Linked DNA regions of Homo sapiens: region 2 is linked to region 1. Evidence: promoter capture Hi-C in 16 types of primary human blood cells and fetal thymus (Javierre and others, 2016). All regions are on one chromosome and are shown on one strand. The core of a region is centred on a gene start or on the middle of the fragment in contact, and the rest is flanking DNA. Distances in the headings are between cores, read along the strand shown.

The links. The method cuts DNA at HindIII sites, captures the fragments that hold promoters and counts their contacts. A CHiCAGO score of 5 or more calls a contact.
Region 2: a fragment that was not itself captured here is called in contact with the fragment with the promoter of ADAMTS5 in region 1 in 3 of 17 cell types (M2 macrophages, M0 macrophages and M1 macrophages); the score reaches 8.1 in M2 macrophages.

What each region holds. Positions count from the first base shown.
Region 1 is chr21:26,965,492-26,968,710 of GRCh38, forward strand. It overlaps ADAMTS5 (ADAM metallopeptidase with thrombospondin type 1 motif 5), which reads right to left and starts at 1,597. Exons shown (of 8, transcript NM_007038.5): 1 at 1-1,597. The coding sequence starts at 900. LOC124905050 reads right to left here. Exons shown (of 3, transcript XM_047441063.1): 2 at 1,953-2,479; 3 at 1,165-1,593. The coding sequence ends at 1,165. The HindIII fragment of the contact is 6,499 bases long and covers 1-3,219 here.
Region 2 is chr21:28,136,938-28,140,129 of GRCh38, forward strand. LINC01697 (long intergenic non-protein coding RNA 1697) reads left to right here. Exons shown (of 5, transcript NR_126010.1): 5 at 1-672. All of the region lies in intron 5 of LINC01695 (long intergenic non-protein coding RNA 1695), which reads right to left. Among named protein-coding and RNA genes, the nearest start is that of LINC01697, 90 kb to the left of the region's middle. The HindIII fragment of the contact is 2,180 bases long and covers 309-2,488 here.

The DNA.
Region 1 (3,219 bases), core at 347-2,846:
CCTATTGGCGATGGAGGCCAGGGTCAGCAGGTAATGCTGCAGGCCCCGGCCATACAACCGCGCCATGGACGCGTCAGCCACCAGAAGCAGCTCCACCTGGCGGGCCCGGGAGATGGAGCGGCGCCGCCGCCGCCACCACGTCTGCGGTCCTGAGCCCCCAGCGGGCGAGAGAGCGGACTGGTCCAAGAGCTGCGAGGCCAGTGCTGCGCGTCCGCTCGGGTTGCTGTGCGCCGGAGCATGCTCGTGGGCCTCCGGTGTGGACGCGGGGGTTTCGCAGCTGGCGCGCGGCGGCAGGGCCTCGAAGCTGAAGCCCTCGCGGGTGTAGACGTGCAGGATCCGTGCGGACCCATCCCCGTACACGCGCCCCTTTTCTTCCTCCGCCCAGGGTCCGCGCAGCAGTGGCTTTAGGGTGTAGCGCGCGTGCTTGACCGCGAAGAAGCCGTCGAGACCCCCACAGAGGTCAAAGACAGCCAGAGAGCGGGGACTACCGTCCACTGTGCCCCGATAGAAGCAGTGGCTCCGGTGGCGCCAGGGCGCACTCGTCCCGCCTCCTGCGGGCACGAAGCCAGCAATGCCCACCGAACCATCTCGCTCCAGGTCCAAGAGGAACCTCCGGCCGCCCGCGTAGACGAGGTAGCCCACCTTGCCGCCGCCGGAGTAGAGTTGGTCGATGTTCTGCACCAGCCCCTTGCTCCTGCGCCGCTGCGCCAGGGGGTGCGGGTGGCCGGGAGGCTCGGCTCGCTCCTGCACCTCCTCCCCCTGCCGCCGGCGGGGCTGGGCGGCTGCTGCAGCAGTCGGAGGCTGCCCGGCTTTATCCTGGGCAGGTGTCGCGGCGGGGCCGACCGCGGCCAGGGGCAGGCGGAACGCGCACAGCAGCAGGGACGCCCACCCGAGCAGCATAGTGCGCTGCCCGCGGGGAGGGGCTGCGCGACTGGGACTTTATGGGTATTTGTTATTTGCTATGAAGTTAACGGGGCGGGGGATGGGGACACACACACACTTGCTTGCAGGATTGAGTCAAGTGTCGGAGGGAGGGGGGCCCGGCAGCAGCGCCAGCCTGTCCGGGCTGCGGTGCCAGCGTGCGAACTTTTCTTTGTTGCTTGGGAAAATGTTTGGATTCGTGCTCCAGAAAGAGGTGGGGTGGGGGGGGGGGGAAAGAAAAGATTAAAAAAAAAAAGTCGGATAGTGGAGATTCAGCAAATACGGGAAAAGGAAAAAAACAAAAACCAAAAAACCACCAAATGCAGGCACGATCGCTGTTTCAAGAAAAGTAAGGAAAGGTACCGCGCACCGGGCTGGCAACTGGTGCGCGCAGCCTCCCGCCCCCGCGCTGCGCTGGACAAGCCGGCTGTGGAGGTTCCAAGCTCCGGGGCCCACTTCCTTTCTTATTTTGTGGGTTTCCTTGGCTCTGCTGGGACCAGGAGGAAGGGAAGAAAGAGAGGGGAAAAAGCCGTAAAAATTAAAACAAAAATGCAGGGGGGCAGCCTGAGGCGAGCTGGTGAAGCGGCGTGTCTGTGTCCCTTCGGCTGCGGTCTCCTCCTGCCCGCCGTCATCCCCAGTCGGCAGCTGCGAGCGCCGAGAGCAGCGCGAGCGCTGTGAAGATGCGAGGAGGTGGAACAATGAATTTATAGCGGCATGCCATCCTGCAATGGCAATTTCAACAGTTCGTCACTGCACGCTGCCTCTTAAAGGGAGAGCTTCCCCCACCACTCCCACCCTTCCCAGTCCGCGCCTAATCAGATGGGGGAGGGCAAAAGAGGAGGGTGATCGAGGAAAGGGAGACGAAGTAGGAGGAAGGGACTGGGACCCGGCGAGGTGGTAGGAGGGGAGAGGGGAAAATAAAAAGTAATGGGGCAAGAAAAACAGATTTCCTTGGCCACTTTTAAAGCCACAGCGGCTCCGGGTCTGTCTGATATTTCACAACCAATTGGGGTTGGCTAACCTTGGCTTACCTCATCTCCTGAACGGGTGTTTTGGTTAAAGTTATTGAGACGTTTCAAGTCTCTCCCTGCCTCCTTCTTGCCTGCTTTTCTCGCCCTCGGTGGGAAGTTCCTGCCGCAAGTTTTTCCCCTTTGCACACCCGTGCGCTCTGGCCTCGCAGACCGTGCAACTCCATCCACCAGCCAGAGCTTTTCAGCTTCCCGTGCGTCCCCTAACCACCGCGTTCCCTTCGCTTCCTCCCCTCCGTCCCGGCACCCGGTTTCCTCCCTCCCCATTCTCCAGCCTCTTGATGCTTTGACGCTCGCCGGATTCGGGCTCCGGGTGACTAACTTCTCCCGGCCACCAGCAGAGCGGCTGGACAGCCAGAGAGCCCAGGGCGCTTCCTGGCGCGCTGCGGTACCCCGGGGCGAGAACGCCCGCCGCTTGGGAACTCCGCAGCTTTGTGTGCGAACGGCGGGCTCCCAGCTTTCTCCAGCACGCCTTTCGTCAGGGTCCACAATCTGTCCCTTACTCCCAGCCCACTGGAACTTCCTTTGCTCTAAAAAGGCAGAGCGAGAAAGAGTTAACTCTTAGAGGGAATTCCGCTCATTTTTTTTCCCTGAAAGATTTTAAAATTTTGCGCTCATACTTTTATTTTTTGCTTAAATGATACTTTAATAATAAATTCCTATATCTGTTTTTGTCTCTTCTAAAGCAACCACTTATCGCCATAGGCCTTGACCTACCTTCATTCTCAGAAATTCCTTTTAGAAGAAAAAGAATACTTTTGGCGGAAGGAAGATTGGTGCTTATTAGTACGCGGGTGACATTATCACTGCTACTCGTTTCCTCTGACCTCTTTGTTTCCTCTAATTATCATTCTAAGAAGGGAGAAGGAAAACCCGACGACTTATGGTTAGAAGGTCTACCTTCTACTGTAGGGGTAAGAGCTCCCTCCATGCCCAAATTATTCTTCAGGCTAATTAACTAATGCACCAGTGAAAAATGAATGTGGTGTAATTTGTACATTTCCATCTTTTTCTACGTTTAACTTTGGCTACGCTGGGGATAGCAGGGCGGGTGCCTTAATGGGGCCCCAAGCTGATCGCTTTCTCTGGGAGGGAACCATGAGGGTCCAGAGCTTGATGGAGGTTCTTAGAGTGGCAATAATCCTCTGGAAGGAATTTCAGAATTGCCCGGCAACAATACCCATTGCCGTGTGCCTGGGAACACCCTCTGGAGTCTTGTGAGGGGCAGATGTATCATCTTGTTTTAACTTATAAATAAAGAAATCACTGG
Region 2 (3,192 bases), core at 149-2,648, 1.2 Mb after region 1:
AAAAGTTAACCAGAGACAATTTCTGTTGCTTGCACACAGTAAGTTGACTAAGCAAAAAAATTCAGGAGAGATTATTTTATAGAAGTCAATGCAAATGCATTAATTTACAAGAAGTGAAACTGCAAGTTCACTTTGCTGCCTTATGGCCAGCATATTCTCTTACAAGGGAAGTCTATATGGCAATCTGTGTTATGATCAGAAGATTTGGGAAAGATGGAATCTGTGAGAGAGTTTTATGACACACGGTTACAACTGATCACAGGATCAAACACTAAAACTCCAATATATATATTTATTCTTATTAGCAAAGCTTTTATGCTATGGAGGAAAAAGAAAAAGAAATAAGAAATTCTGAGTTTCTCTAAACTTCCAGTATGTGGATGAGTTAAAAACTATGTCATCTTGGATTCCCCATTTTAAATATTTCATAATAATGCATTATAATTGGTACATGTTAATATCAATTTTTTCTTTTGCTGTTTTTGAAGTGGTGTGAATCACCTGTAACAAGGTTTCCTTATCATCCATTTAATTATTGTCCTATAATATACTTTTCAATACAGCAACTACTTTTTATGTTTTGGGATTACTTTTACTATTGTTAGATAAAACCTATGGTTGATTGTGTGCCTCTAGAAGAACTTCAAAAGTACAATATAAATCTTGCTAACAATAACTCATTATGGTCAGTGGTTTTTCAGGATAGTTATTTATCTCAACTACTCATGATGTGAATGTCTTTTAAAATTTGAATAATTGCCCTCTCTGTCAGATACAATATTATTATATTTTTACTGATTACATTAAGAATTAGGCAAGATTAAAATTTTCTTTTTGCACCATCATTACTTCTTAAGAACTTAACTGTTGTTGAACAAATAGTACGTGTGTCAGTTATTAAATGTAGTCTAAATTCATGAAATAAGAATGTACATATAGCATAGTGGGAAAAACACAGGTTTTAGAATCATATACCATAGAGTTATGTTTCAGTAGTGCTACTAATGTATTCTTTGACCCTACGTCAGTCAGCAAACACAACTGAAATCAAGTGGTAACTCTATGTTCCTCCTTTGTGTAATAAGTATTTTTACATGTTTGAGATCAAATGATATAGTGTGTTAAAATTATTTATAAGCTAAAATATTTTATAAATAATAGCTGTACTTATTAAAAATTAGAGATTAATAAGTTGTTACATAAAACACACGTAAGCGATTCAATGTTAGGAAAATATATTTAGCTTTCTCAAAATTTTATTTCATAAAGCAAAGTTTCCTACATTAACTATCCAGCTATCTGTTGTGTTTTTCATCATCATCACAAATGGATTCAGACTGGCTACCATATAAAAACACTCATAAATTCTAGGAATGCCAGAAGTTCCTGTCCTCAACTATCTAATTGTATTCTTTAGATAACTTCACATATTATGAAGATAAATAACTAGCGATACAGCAGAACCCATGGTAAATAGCACTGAGTCATGCAGTTAATGAGCATAATGTGGACAGAAGAGAAAATCACTGTTGCTTCTGTCCCTTGGAGCAGGTGGACTTCAGCTGAAACTTGAGGGAATACTGTCCATTCTGTTTAGGAAGCATTGCTAGGAAGAGTGTATTGCCAGCTGCTTGTGTTTTTAAAGTCACTGCATGCATGTGTGGTAATTTGTTATGGCGACATTAGGAAACTCATACAAATTTTGATGTCTGAGAGTTATATACTGCTGTAACAAATATCTATAAAATGTCAAAGTGGCTTTGGAATTCGGCAGTGAGTGAGGCTAAGAGAATGTTGAAGGTCATCCGAGAAAAACTTACATTGTTTTGAACACATTGTTAGTAGAAATGTGGTTGTTAATGATTCTGCTAGAAAGGACTTAGAAGAAAGTGAAGAGAAGAGCATGGTAGAGAAGGCATAGACTGCGTTAGAGCATACATGAATCAGCATGAACAGACTTAGTAAAAATAGGGACATAAAAAGTACTATTGGTGAAGGCTTAGAAGGAAATAAAAAACACATTAAAAATTTGAAGAAAGAATTTCCATATTATATAGCGGTAGAAACTTAGCAAAGTTGTCCTACGTTCAGGTGAAAAATAGAACTTGTAAATGATGAAATTGAATACGTAAGTAAGGATATTTCCAAGCAAAGGGTTGAAGAAGCCGCCTGGCTTCTTGTTTCTTCTCATAGCAAAATGCAATGAGAAAGAGATAATTTGAGAAAAGAACCGTTTAAACAAAAAGAAACCAAGACATAATGATTTTGGAAATTCTCAGTTTATTCAGACTGCAAAAGATATTAAAATAAAGAAACTCAGTAACAGGGATAGATAATCTAAAGAAAAAGCCTAGGACACGGCTGTAGTAACCTTCTGTTTTTATACCTCAGCAATTTGCTAATGCCTCAAAAAGATCAAAAGTACTCAAATATAAAGGGCTCTTTGAAGAGATTAGATTTCCTCAATCAAACCAAAGAGCATCGAGGAAGCTTAAGGTTACTGTCCCTCACATATCTCAGCAGAAGGCAAAAATAGAAGACTGATTATCTAAGAAAGATCTCTGAAAGAGTCTCATATTATGGAGTGAACCCCTGTGGCATACATGGGAGACCCACTTGGTTCTTGAGAATTTTATATCAGGAGAAACACTGTCAGTCTGTATTGAAAGGAACAGAGAAAATACGAAATTAAAGAAGACTATTAAACCTCCAAAATTCTGGCAGGAAAGAAGCTTACACAGCTACTCAGTTGCAAAGATCTGCCACTTTTCATATACATGAAAGGACTCAGAGGAGGAAGCCACAGGTTTAGAAGGAAAAGCTAAAAGCAACATCGTATTAGTCTTGGATCTAGGAACCTAATTTCTCTAGCAGAATCTAGAAATGGCTTGGGACAAGTGATTGTTTTTTTACCTAGGATTTTCTCCCTCTTGAAAACAGGACTGTCTGTAACTATTATCCTATGCCTGCCCTACCATCATATTTCAGAAACAGGTAACTTATGTTTTCACTTTCAAAGATTCACAATAAAGAGAAATTGTACCTCAGAATGGATTATACCAGAGCTTTCCTCATGCATAAATTAAATAATTTAGGTTATGTGATTTGAAGCTTTTGAGTGGGTGAGGTGACATTTTGGATGCTGAGTTGGTGCCGTAGTGAGTCCAGAATTCTGCGGAACTTGGTTTCGGT